Regions from separate parts of the Homo sapiens genome. Here regions 1 and 3 are each linked to region 2. Evidence: promoter capture Hi-C in 16 types of primary human blood cells and fetal thymus (Javierre and others, 2016). All regions are on one chromosome and are shown on one strand. Each heading gives the region's core, a stretch centred on a gene start or on the middle of the fragment in contact. The rest is flanking DNA. Distances are from core to core; before and after follow the strand shown.

What was found. Contacts are between HindIII fragments. The CHiCAGO score rates a contact against its expected background, and 5 or more counts as called.
Region 1: a fragment that was not itself captured here is called in contact with the fragment with the promoter of CENPU in region 2 in 1 of 17 cell types (monocytes); the score reaches 7.0 in monocytes.
Region 3: a contact is called between a fragment that was not itself captured here and the fragment with the promoter of CENPU in region 2, in 1 of 17 cell types (total CD8 T cells). The highest score is 6.5, in total CD8 T cells.

What each region holds. Positions count from the first base shown.
Region 1 is chr4:184,993,998-184,998,566 of GRCh38, reverse strand. All of the region lies in intron 1 of LINC02437 (long intergenic non-protein coding RNA 2437), which reads right to left. Among named protein-coding and RNA genes, the nearest start is that of LINC02437, 6.9 kb to the right of the region's middle. The HindIII fragment of the contact is 7,688 bases long and covers 1-4,569 here.
Region 2 is chr4:184,731,164-184,735,345 of GRCh38, reverse strand. CENPU (centromere protein U) reads left to right here and starts at 1,250. Exons shown (of 13, transcript NM_024629.4): 1 at 1,250-1,330. The coding sequence starts at 1,284. RefSeq lists a silencer at 1,244-1,303 and enhancers at 1,674-1,793, 944-1,810. The HindIII fragment of the contact is 4,927 bases long and covers 1-3,824 here.
Region 3 is chr4:184,441,360-184,445,698 of GRCh38, reverse strand. All of the region lies in intron 1 of IRF2 (interferon regulatory factor 2), which reads left to right. Among named protein-coding and RNA genes, the nearest start is that of IRF2, 31 kb to the left of the region's middle. RefSeq lists an enhancer at 427-576. The HindIII fragment of the contact is 2,319 bases long and covers 1,883-4,201 here.

The DNA.
Region 1 (4,569 bases), core at 366-2,865, 260 kb before region 2:
CCAAGAAAAGAGGGGACACATTAAACACAGATAAAAGCAGATAATACTGAATTAGAAAATGGAAAAAGGTAGTGCCAAATCTAAAAGCTGGTTCTTTAGTACAAAATAAACCACTGGATGACTAGAACTAACTGGATCAGAGGCTTATTAAAATAATGCTAGAATGCATGGCTTTTTACCCAGAAATGTTTGCAGTGATTGCCCAATTAGACCATAAACTTGATTATACAGATGTTAATAGCAAAGGCAGACCCAACTCAGAATACTCATGCAGGAGGGAAAGTATTTTGAAAAAGGAATTCTGAAAAGATAAAATGAAGCAGTTGCACCATAACTGATTTTCAGTTAATTTCTGCCTAACATTGAGATGTGTCCACGGGCAGAATATTTTTCTTTCTGCTTATTATTTTGGCCTGGATGACCTCTCTTAGTTCTTGCTTCTACTTACCAGAACCAGATATAAGTAGCAAGTACAGCCTCCTGCAAGCCATGGCGTACCTCAATTTCAGCACTAAAGTATTAGGTTGGTACAAAAGTAATTGTGGTTTTTGCCATTGGGGATTATAAATCATTCTACTATAAAGACACATGCATACATATGTTTATTGCAGCACTGTTCACAATAGCAAAAACTTGGAACCAACCCAAATGCCCATCAATGAGAGACTGGATAAAGAAAATGTGGCACATATACACCATGGAATACTATGCAGCCATAAAAAAGGATGAGTTCATGTCCTTTGCAGGGACATGGATGAAGCTAGAAACCATCATTCTCAGCAAACTAACACAGGAAGAGAAAACCAAACACTGCATGTTCTCACTCATAAGTGGGAGTTGAACAATGAGAACACATGGACTCAGGGAGGGGAACATCACACACTGGGGCCTGTCAAGAGGTGGGAGGCTGGGGGAGGGAGAGCATTAGGATAAATACCAAATGTAGATGACTGGTTGATGGGTGCAGCAAACCACCATGGCACGTGTGTACCTATGTAACAAACCTGCACCTTCTGCATATGTATCCTAGAACTTAAAGTATAATAATAATGTAAAAAAACACAATTGCTTTTGCACCAAACTAATACTTTTTTTGATAAATTTCTAGCTAGCAACCTGAGGCCAGTTAATTTTGGCCTCTCATCCCCACGGTCTCCAGCCCCTTGACTGCTGTTCCCTCTCTCCTTTCTGCCTGTGCTTCCTCTCCCCAGCTCGACATGGCTCTGTTGAGGTCACCTTGCTGCATCTCGCCTCTTTCCCTCCATGGCTTGGATCTATCATCCCTTGGAAGTACTCCACCTGTGGGAGTCCATATGCCTCTCTGCCATAATCCAGTCTCTCCCAGACCTTCCAGCTCTCTCATTAAATATTCAACAAAAAATTAATGAGCACCCGGTGTGTAGGAGGGACTGTGCAAGGGACTGCGATACAGCGATGAACCACACAGGCATGGTCCCTTCTCACAAAGACCTGCACCTGGGGCAGAGCACAGTGATCCAATGATGACTTAACTAAAGGCTTAGTTACAACCAAGGCAAATGCTGTGAAGAAAGCACCACTTCACATCCCATCTCCCCCACATCCTCCAAGTCTGATGAACCACTTCCTATGTTCACTTTTGTCCTTTCTAGCCCAGACCCCACAGAACAGCAATTCCAACACTCTCTTACCAGCTCCCTCCACTCCATTGCCCTCTGTTCTTTGGCAAACCACCAAGCATGGAGTAAATTAATTTATTATTATGTATTTTGAGATAGGATCTCACTATGTTGCCCAGGCTGGATTTGAACTCCTGGGTTCAAGCAGTCCTCCTGCCTTGGCCTCCTAAGTAGCTGGGACTGCAGGTGTGAGCCACCTTACTCAGCAACATGGAGTAAATTCAGATTTACATCTTCCTTCTTTATACCAGGAACCTGAATGATGCTGATGAACCATACTTCAGCGTGAATGGGAGCCCCAGTGCTTTGACTCCAACTGCACTGCCCACTCCTTTTTTTTTTTTTTTTTTTTTTGAGACAGAGTCTCACTCTGTTGCCCAGGCTAGAGTGCTGTGGTGTGATCTCCACTCACTGCAGCCTCTGCCTCTCAGGTTCAAGCAATTCTCCTGCTACAACCTCTCGAGTAGCTGGGATTACAGATACATGTCACCACACCCAGCTAATTTTTGTATTTTTAGTAGAGACGGGGTTTCACCATATTGGTCAGGCTGGTCTCGAACTCCCAACCTCAGGTGATCCACCCACCTCAGCCTCCCAAAGTGCTGGGATTATAGGTGTGAGCCACTGCGCCCGGCCTGCACTGCCCACTTCTTAGCAATGTTCACATACACACTCTTCATCTCCACAGCGGCCGCTCCACACTGCTCCGTACTGTCTCCAGATGATCTCACCCTCTTTTCACAAGGTGCCTTTGTGACTTACTTCACAAAGAAAATAATCACCGCCGTCAGGAACTCTCCTCTCTTGCTCCACCCACTCACCTGTCTATGTTATATTCCTTCTCACCTTCTTCCATCGCTCTGATAAGGGCCCCTTCCGTCTCTAAGGTGAATTTCTCCTCCCACTGCCTCCTGCCCTGCCCCTGTGCTCTGGGTCCCATTTAGTTTCTGCTCCTAAGAATTGGTTCCGTTAGTCACGCGTCTTTTTCCATGTCATCTTCTCTATCCCTCATTGGTCCCTTCCCCTTAGCAGACAAACACACTCAACGTTTTCACGTCCTGAAACAGACAACAATAAAATTCCCTCTCTTGCCTCTGGTTTTCTTTCTAGCGCTCTATTTCCCTCTGATTGCTTAGCCAAGCCCCTGGCAAGAATGAGCTCCATGGATTCTGAATGTTCCCAACACAATGATAAGTGTTCGAGGTGATGGATCTGCTAATTATGCTATTTGATCATTGCACATATATACATGTATCAAACTGTCACACTGTACCCCATAAATATGTATAATTATTATGTGTCAATTAAAAGTAATATTAAAAGGAAAAAAAGGCCGGGCGTGGTGGCACACGCCTGTAATCCCAGCACTTTGGGAGGCCGAGATGGGTGGATCACGAGGTCAGGAGTTCGAGACCAGACTGGCCAACATGGTGAAACCACGTCTCTACTAAAAATACAAAAATTAGCCAGGCATGGTGGCGCGCGCCTGTAGTTTCACCTACTCAGGAGTCTGAGGCAGGAGAATCACTTGAACCTGGGAGGTGGAGGTTGCAGTGAGCCGAGATTGTGCCACTGCACTCCAACCTGGCAACACAGCAGGACTCTGTCTTAAAAAAAAAAAAGAAGGGTTCCATTCTCTGTCTCCACTCACTGTGTCCACCTCTCTTCTGCTTACAACCCCTGCTGAAATCCTCGGTTTCCATTTTCACCAAACCAGTAGAAGTGTCCCGTACGTCTTTGTGGTCAAATGCAGTGGCCCTCTGAGTTCTTTTGGCACTTGGTACAGGTGAGCCCCTCCTTGCTGGAACTCCTTACTCTCTTGGTTTTCATGACACCACTTCCCTGGTCTTTACGGTATTTCTGGCCTCTTCTCAACCTCTTTTGTGAATTTTTGGTTTTGCCTCTGTCGTCTTTTAAAGCTGTATCCCCAGGATTCCGGCCTTGCTATCAAGGTTCTTTGTCTACTCTTTCTACTCAGCTTGAATGATTTTGCTCACAACCAGGTTTTCAGCCGTCATCCCCCTGCTCTTTGTGCCAAGTTCTCTCGCCCATTCTTTCTCTGGAGAGCTTCCTCCTGACCTCCAGACACACTCCCCCACTTGGCTATGCCCTTGGCAGATCTGTCATGCTCCGCATTTCGGGCCTGCATCCGTCTTCTTCCTCTCCACACCTCAGGACACGCCAGGATTTCTGTCCTGCGCTTCACGTCTCAGTGGATTGCAGCACTGCGGACGACTGCCCAGAGAGAAAAGCGTTATCACGGGGGCCTTCTGCCCCCCACTTTCCAACACTGCTGACACTTTCTCTGAAATATATTCACCCCTGCCCTCTAAGCAGCACCTCTTCCCACTCCAGTCATGCTGCCAAAACCTAGGTTCAGATGCAGAGAGGCCGTGGGCCAATTTCCAGCCTCCTGCTTCCATCCTCTCCCCATCTATGCTGGCCTTCAAAAAAATCCGAACAGAACTTTGCGTCCCACAGATCGGATCATGCTTTCTTCAGCAGAACTTGTCCTGAGCTCCCCGTGGGCTGTAGAACAAAGCCTAGTATCTTTCCCCTCGGGCCACGGCCCTTCATTGAGGTCCCCACTGTGGTGTCTTCAATCCTGCAATCTATGCTCCCACAGCACGGACTTGCTTGCGACACTCTCTACTGAGGGCACCCCTCTTCCGTTTGTCCTTCTAGCAGATGCTTCCTCTTCCAAAGGACGTGGCTCCAATGTGCCTTCGGGGAGGCACCTCAGAGATGCTCGGCATGCGCCTCCCACTGCCCTTCCTTCACGACTCCATGGCAGGAATCGTCCTGCAGTGCCGTCACCTTTTCTCAAGTCTGACAGTCAGCCCCTGCGGACCAGATGCCACATCTTCCTACAGGGATGTCCCAAGTTTCTAAAGCAGTGCCCAGGACCTTG
Region 2 (4,182 bases), core at 1-2,500:
AGCAAAACTCCAACTCAAAAAAAAAAAAAAAAAAAAAAAAAGAACTTACTCATGTAACCAAATAGCACCTGCACCCCAATAATTTATGGAAAAATAAAATAAATAAAAAATAAAAGCAATAGCTTTAGTAAGAAAGGGCACTTGCAGCATACCTACCAAATATCATATAAAGTTTAGAAACATACAATAATCAATACATTATTTGGGGCTATATCAAGGTAGAAAACCACAGGAATGATACACATAAAATCAGAAGAGTGGTTATTCTTTGGAGGAGGAGGATACCATTCAGAGGGGTACCCAAGAGTTATATATAAAAATGATCCATATCCCCATGTAGTGCTGGTTACACGGATGTTTGTTTTTATCTTTACATTACACGTTATATTCTTTCATATGCATGAAACGTAATATTTTTGTCGTAGTAAAATATACATAACAAAATTTAGCATTTTAACCGTTTTTAACTTTACAGTATTGTGGCATTAAGTACCTTCACCTTGTGCATCCATCCACCACTATTTCCAGAACGTTTTCATCATCCCAAACTGCTTTTGGTATCATATCCAAGAAATCATACCAAGTCCAATGTTATGAAGTTTTTGCTCTGTTTTCTTCTAAGAGTTTTAATTTTAGCCTTTATAGTTAGGTCTTTGATTCATTTTGCGTTAATTTTTATACGCGGTGTAAGGTAAGGGTTCAATTACATTCTTCTGCATTACACATTTTTAAACACAAACAAAATAAAAGAACAAAAGGAACCCTGTCCATTTACAAATGAAGGTATTGGGATAGCGGTAAAGTAACATGCTAAGCTCAGACAGCTGATAAAGGCAGCAGGGGCTGGAAGCCAAATCCTGTAGGCCTGGAAAGACGACTGCGGCCTCAGCGACAACAGCTGCGAACACGGGTCTCCACCCACCCTCTTACCTGCCCACGACTCAGGGACACTAGCTCCTCCCCTTTCCCCACCCCACAAGGGGCCGTCCCACGTGGCTCCCGGGCTTTCTGGCGCCGGAAAACTGGCGATGCGGGTGGGCGCGAAAGCCCGGAAAACTTTGGCATGTTTTGGACCGTAGGTAACTGGTTGTGCGGCATGGACTCCAGCTCCGTTGCGCTGTAATAACCAGACCCAGTTTTCCCTCACGCTCCAGGCCAGGGAGGAGCCCGGGGGCCGCTCAGGAAGTCCTGCGCACGCGCGCGTGCTCGGCCCGGATTGGCTGTTCGGAGCGGCGAGGGGCTTGGCGGGAGCTTCCAGTCGCTCGAGAGCGGAGAGCGGCACCATGGCCCCGCGGGGGCGGCGGCGGCCGCGGCCTCACAGGTCTGAGGGGTAAGTACTGCCGACCCTCGGGAGCGCGGGGCCGGAGACCAGCTTGAACTGCTTCCTCGCCTGCCGTGGTTTGCGCCTCCCGGCGCTGTTGGTGCTCCACTGTGGAGGTCGCCCGAGTGGCCAATCGCCCGGGTCCCCGGCTTCCTCCTCAGTCTAGTGGGGATAACAGTGATCCCACCTGCACGGGCCTGTCGGGGCCTAACACTGCCTGGCGGGTGGGAGAGACGTCAGCCAGTGTCGTGTCGTTTTGTGGGGAGGGGGAGTGCCGTCCAAAGTAGTGAGTCTCAAAGTGCTAGCTTGAAAGCAAAATATTCAGCAAATACGTATTGCCTGCGGTTTGCCAGACTTTGTTAGTGGAGTTTTATTCTCTGACTGGGAATCAGTTTTCTTATTTTGAAGACCCTGGTGTTTTCTTACTGCAAACCACAGACCGTAAACTGGAGCATAAATCCGGCTGGGGGACCGAGCTGCCGCTTGCGGTTCTCCAGGATGGCTCGAGCGGTTTTTGTTTACCAAAGAAAGCGAGCGTTTGGTCGGTTGCAAAACGCGCTCTAGAATGCTGGTCGCTGATTCGTTGGCGAATGGCCATCCAAGGCCCGGCCTGGATCTGGCGGGAAGGGTCTCGGCTTGCTGCAGACGGTGCACAAAGCCATACGCCAAGACGATCTGAAGAGAACAGGAGTTCCCCCGGGCCTGGGAAGGCTGCCTGGAGGAGGAGGTGCTGGTAGATGCGGGGTTAGGGTGGAAAAGCTGGAGCAGGACACCGCAGGTGGGTGGGGAAACCGAGACCAGACTTCTGTGGCCAGTGGAGGAGAATGAAGACTCCCCCAGTGCAAAAAAGGATTAGAAGAGAATGTCAGCCTTCAATGTCAGCTGAAAAGAGTTTATCTGAAAGGCTAGTGGTTTTTGTTGTCTTTTTTTATTTTTATCTTTTAACATTTTTGGGTTTGAGACTCATGAAATCTGTTCATGCCTCCTCCCAAAACACACTTACGCACATACAACAGAATTTTTTTTTTTTTTTTTTTTTGAGACGGAGTCTCACTCTGTGGCCCAGGCTGGAGTGCAGTGGCGCAATCTCCGCCTCCCAGGTTCAAGCGATTTTCCTGCCTCAGACTCCAGAGGAGCTGGGATTACAGGCGCTCGCCCCCACGTCCAGCTAATTTTTGTATTTTTAGTAAAGACGGGGTTTCACCATGTTGGCCAGGATGGTCTTGATTTCCTCACCTCGTGATCCGCCCTCCTGGGGTTCCCAAAGCGCTGAGATTACAGGCATGAGCCACCGCGCCTGGCCCAGAAATTTTACCTGTGGGTTGTCACAGAGGTTTCTGTCTCTCAGAAGCCCCACCTTGACTCCAGCGTAAGGCAAGGAGGAACCTTGACTTTTTTTCCCCCCCAAGAAAGGACAAGACAGCTCAAAGAGTTTAGGTTAAGAAGTTTATGTGGTCTAGTGTGTAGCTGGGTTTCTGTTACCTGGCTATGTGACCCTTGATAAGTCACTTAAATTTTCTGAATCCCGGAATCATCATCTATAAAATTGCCATAAAACCAATACTTGTCTTACCTGCTTCCTTAGGTTTCATGAATTAAATAAATAAATCGTGAACTTGTTAGAAATGCAGAATCCCAGACCTCACCCCAGAGGGACTGAATCAGACACTCCTGGGGTGGTGCCAAGCAACCTGTTCAACAAGCCCTCTTGAGAATTTTGATGACACTCAAGTCTGGGAACCACCGCTCTGAACAGTTTTCTAACTTTTTTTTTTTAACTGTGATTCACAGTAATGATGTTTTACATCACACTTAGTACACGTGTGCACACATCCACACATAAAACAAAAGGCTTGTGAACATAGTATATCCAGTGCAATGCTTCATTTTATATTTTCCTTTTTTATTGTTTGTTTTTTTAAAAATGCTGGCCTGGCAATCTTAAAAGACATTATAGGACAATTGATGTGATTTGGGTATGGACTGTAGATTAGATTATGGTATCAGTGTTAAATTTCTTGATTTTAGAAATTGTACCATGAATATGCAGTATAATGCCCTCTTAGGAAAGACATATTGTAGTATTTAGGGGTGGAAGTGCACAGTATCTCCAGACACACACACACACACACACACACACAGAGCACATGAGTAAAGGGCATACAGAAGGTCCTTGTGCTATGTTTGCAACTTTTCTGTGAGCTTGAAATTATATCAGATAAAAGGATACTAAAACATTGGTTTAGACTAAGCTGATTTTGCTGTCTACAAATGAGAAAAATATGGCTGCAATCTGCATGGCATATTTTAAAGTCTAATTATGTACTGTATTCTCCTGGAGTATCCCCCCCGTACCCTTGTACGATGCCTGGTTGGTGGAGGATAGTCTGTACATATTCACTGACTGCTGGCACTATTATTAGTAATAATGATATATAATCCTGCCACTGTTATTTCCCGTTTTTATTCTTGTCACCATTGTTACATTTGTTTTCTTGAAGCTTGTTGAAGATATATATACAACTTTATCATTTGAAGCTGTGGTCCAACTGAGAGAGTGTCAAGGGAGGTCGAGGGCAGGCCCTGGATTTGAACTGATGTAAATTTTAATGCAGGCTTGTCTCCCTCCTGGCTCCGTGTTGCTGTGGGCAAGCACACATCTGTAACATGGGATTCACTTCTACCTTATAGGACTGTTAGAATTAAATGAGAAAAGGACGTAGGAGAGCCAGGCACCGGATGGAGCAGGTGTCGGGGCTTAGCGTTAGCCTACCTCCCCTTTGTTCAGCTGTGCAGAGAAAGTCAATCACTGCTGATTGATTAAGGCCTCAGGGAAAAAGTTAACAGCAGGATTCCAACTT
Region 3 (4,339 bases), core at 1,793-4,292, 290 kb after region 2:
TCTATTACTGTATTGTTCTTCTTCTTCTTCTTTTTTTTTTTTTTGTGATGGAGTCTCACTCTGTCGCCCAGGTTGGAGTGCAGTGGCATGATCTCAATTCACTGTAACCTCTGCCTCCAGGGTTCAAGCGATTCTCCTGACTCAGCCTCTTGAGTAGCTGAGATTACAGGCACACACCACCATGCCCAGCTAATTTATATAAATTTTAGTAGAGATGGGCTTTCACCATGTTGACCAGGCTGGTGTTGATCTCTTGAGCTCACGTAATCCGCCTGCCTTGGCCTCCCAAAGTGCTGGGATTACAGGTGTGAGCCACTGTGCCTGGCCTATTGTTCTTATTTTCTCATCTAAAATTAGGGCACCCTGCTGACATCAGGACAGTCTTGGAAAACTCAGGACTTAAGAGTGAGCACAGGATGGCACTTAGTGTGATGACACTGGGCTGTTCAGGAAACACGTTCACCTTCTGTTCTGTGCCAACCCGGGGTTGGGGCACACCCCCGCCCCCCAGAGGCCCAGTTCCAGGTCAAACAACTGTCTCTTGGTGCATGTTGTCAGCCCGGCGCATGCTCTGAGTTCTGTAAGGGTGAGTGAACGGGGAACTCTGACTGTCATTGGTGCTGTGGGGGAAGAGAGCAGCGTGTCAGCACGTGGACTCAGCTGGGGACTCATGGGGAAGCCACCATGGTACGGCAGGGCCTGGAAGTTTGCGCGTGGTCCTTGATTGCCCTGATGGTTAAAACCACCTGCTCCCCGACTTTTTTCACATTATGCTCTGTGCATTCCTGCACAAATTAAATATTCTAGACAGTAGTTCTCCCTTATCTGTGGTTTTGCTTTTAGTGGTTACAGTTACCCATGGTCAACTGAGGTCTGAAAATATTAAATGGGAAATTCCAGAAATAAACAATTCATAAGTTTTAAATTGTGCACTGTTGCAAGTAGCATGATGGAATGTAACATCCCACCTCTTCCTGCCCAGGACATAAATCATCCCTTTGTTGAGATGAGGGAATCTGCTGTAGTCCCAATACTCTATTATTTGACTCTATTACATTTTCTTTAAACATCTTCCCACTGTCTGGTATTTGGGTTAGTTTTGCTATATAAATAATGCTCTTTGAACAATGTTGACCATAAATTTGTGTCTGCAGAAACTATTATTTGTTAAATATCAACTATTGATGGATCAGGTACTAGGCTAGGCATGTTACACATCTTATTTAATCCTTACCGCAAACCATGCGGAAGTTATCCCATTTTACAGAGGAGAAAACTGAGGCATAGGGTCTTGGGTTCTGTTACCTTCTGCGTTTGGTTCCTGAAGCAGTGCCCTGGGAAGTGGCTATAGTTGCCGGATGGAGACCTGAATGGCTTCTACAGTTGTGGAGATGGTGACCAGCACCAGGGGATTTCTGAATTTTTGGGGCAATGGCTTGTTGATTTCTCATTTAAGGTCTCATTTTTATCACTATACTGTATATGAGATAAGGTTCCTCTCCTCATCTCATATACAGTATAGTGATAAAAAAGCGTCACTAGCCAAGGCTGGCTCCTGCCCACTTGTCATGGATATGGGAGCCGCCGAGGTCTTCCCTGGTCTCTGCCCTGCCCTTAGGGGGCTGTGCTGTCCTGGAGTCATGTGGCTGTCAGACCTCGGGTGTCATCCTGAGTCCTGCATTGCAGCTGCCATCCTACTCCATGATGAATAAGGGTAGGCCTATGAAGGGCCTAATCACTTATTAGGAATTTGCATGTTGCCAAATTAATAAGCTAAGGGTCAGACATGATTGATCACCATTAATACCCAAACCATTTCCTAGGGCTGTCATCTCAGCAGGAGTTGTGGTCATAGATGAGCTTACACTGGCTAGGGAAAGCTTTCTGGGATGGGTGGATTTAAAACTGTCTCCTGGATTTCTCAAAGAACTAAAAATAGAACTGCCATTCAACCCAGCAATTCCATTACTGGGTATATACTGAAAGGAAAAGAAATCATTCTAGCAAAAGATACCTGTACTTTTATGTTTATTGCAACACTATTCACAATAGCAAAGATATGGACTTAACCTAGGTCCTCATCAGCAGTGGACCGGATAAAGAAAATATGGTATATATACACTATGGAATACTATGCAGCCATAAAAACAATGAAATCATTCACAATAAGAAGCATGGAGCTGGAGGTCATTATCTTAAATGAATTAACACAGAATCAGAAAACCAAATACTACCACATGTTCTCACTTATAAGACGGAGCTAAACACTGAGTACACATGGACATGAGGATGGGAACAAGAAACAGTGAGGATTCCAGAAGGGGAGAGAGAGGAAGTAGGGCAAGGGTTGAAAAACTACCTATTGGGTACTATGTTCACTACTTGGACAGCAGGATCATTAGGAGCCCAAACCCCAGTATCATTGCAATATACCCATGTAACAAACCTGCACAGGTACCCCTGAATTTAAAACTGAAAGCAAAAACAAAAACAACCTGTAATCCCAGCACTTTGAGAAGCTGAGGTGGGTGGATCAGCTGAGGTCAGGAGTTTGAGACCAGCCTGGCCAACATGGTGAAACCCCATCTCTACTAAAAATGCAAAAATTCACCGGGCAAGGTGGCACGTGCCTGTAATCCCAGCTACACAGGAGGCTGAGGCAGGAGAATCGCTTGAACCTGGGAGGCGGAGGGTGCAGTGAGCAGAGATCGTGCCATTGCACTCCAGCCTGGGTGACAAGAGTGAGACTCTGTCTCAAACAAAACAAAACAACCCCTCCCACCCCGCTGCCCCCACCACCCCCACCCCCACCCCCACAAAGTTATCTTCTGAAGACCAAGAGAGAAGTACTTGGTATCAAGTGGTAAAAAACAAACAGGGCTGAGAGATTTAAGTAGGTTGGAGAAAGGAGTTTTGGGGCACAGGGTTTTTGTACTTCTTGGAGGTCCTGATACTAAAAATGAGGTCATTTTTAGAGTGGGAAGCAAAACGGCCCCATAACGAAGTGTTTGCTCTTCATATGCACTGAAACGGCAGGAGGTGGAAATTGACAAATATTGAGGATGCTTACTAGTTCACTGGTTTTCAGCACCTTAAATAAATGTTAATGTGAAATTAACATTAAGATAGTGGCGCGTTTGTCTTCTATGGGACTTACTTGTGCTTCTGAAATAGTTCTTCAGGTTAATCGGTTATGGGCTGGGCAGGGCACACTTTCCTCCCCTTCTGCCTTCAAAAGACCCTGGAAGCACCCAGGTGGCCCTGCTTTATGGCAGAAGCAGCAACTAAAATGAAACAACTGATTCATCTGCATCCAGGTGATGCAAAGCCAGGAAAAAGCCCCTCTGGTTCTCTCTTGTTTCCTTAAAGAGAGCATGGAGGTGAAGGGGTGGAGAGAGGGCGAGTATCTTTATTTTGGAGTATGGGAGTGTTTTCCTAGTCCGGACTACAAAAGGAAAGCTCGGGTTGGCCAGGAAACGCAGCATGTTTTGTTGATGCCCACTCGCTGGGAAAGTATTAAATGGGGCAGGAAGTGTGACTTTGGAAGGGGCTGCATAAAGGAGGCTGGGAAACTGCTTCCTGTGCACCCGGGCCAGCTCAGGAGCTGGAACGATGTTTGGCAGGCTGTGGGGATCTTGCTGCCCTGGCTGTGTCCCCTTCCACACAGGCTCCCAGTGCAGATGCCAGGTCAGACGGAGGTGTGGGGCCCTCTCTACCTCTTGATGTGAACCCCAGTTTGGCCTGCCTGTGCGAGCCTCATATCCAAATGCTAAGTCAGGGCCTAAGACTCCAGTTCAAATATGAGTTCTACCACTCAGTAGCTCTGTGACCTTGGGAAGTTACTTAACCTTACGTGCCTCAGTTTCTTCATCTATAAAATGGGGACCACAGTAGTACCCACGTTCTTGGGATGCTGTGAATCAGGTGAGCTTATCCTCTTAACGTGCTTAGAACTTGCCTAACACTGCTAAGCGCTTAATACTCCTTAGCTATTGTTAATACCCTCATGGTGGAGGATATTGACAACATCCTGGTAAGTGGGACACTCCCTGCTGGCCAGCTGGTATCATTTTCAAGGGTTTGCAGGTCTAGATCTGGATGAGGCAGTTACTCACAGAAAAGCTCCCTTGCTTACCAACAGGTTGTGTTCCAAAGGTGATTAAGTTTGCAGAGTGTGCATCAGGCTTTTTAAAACTAAGCTTTTCCCAAAACAAAGCTGTTTCAGTAGCAGGAACATTACAGGGGTGTCACGAGCAGGTATTTTCTTTCCACCAGACACCTGACCACTCACTGTGATTTGGAAAGATTAGAACCGGCCGGGAAACGATGTTTCCATCTT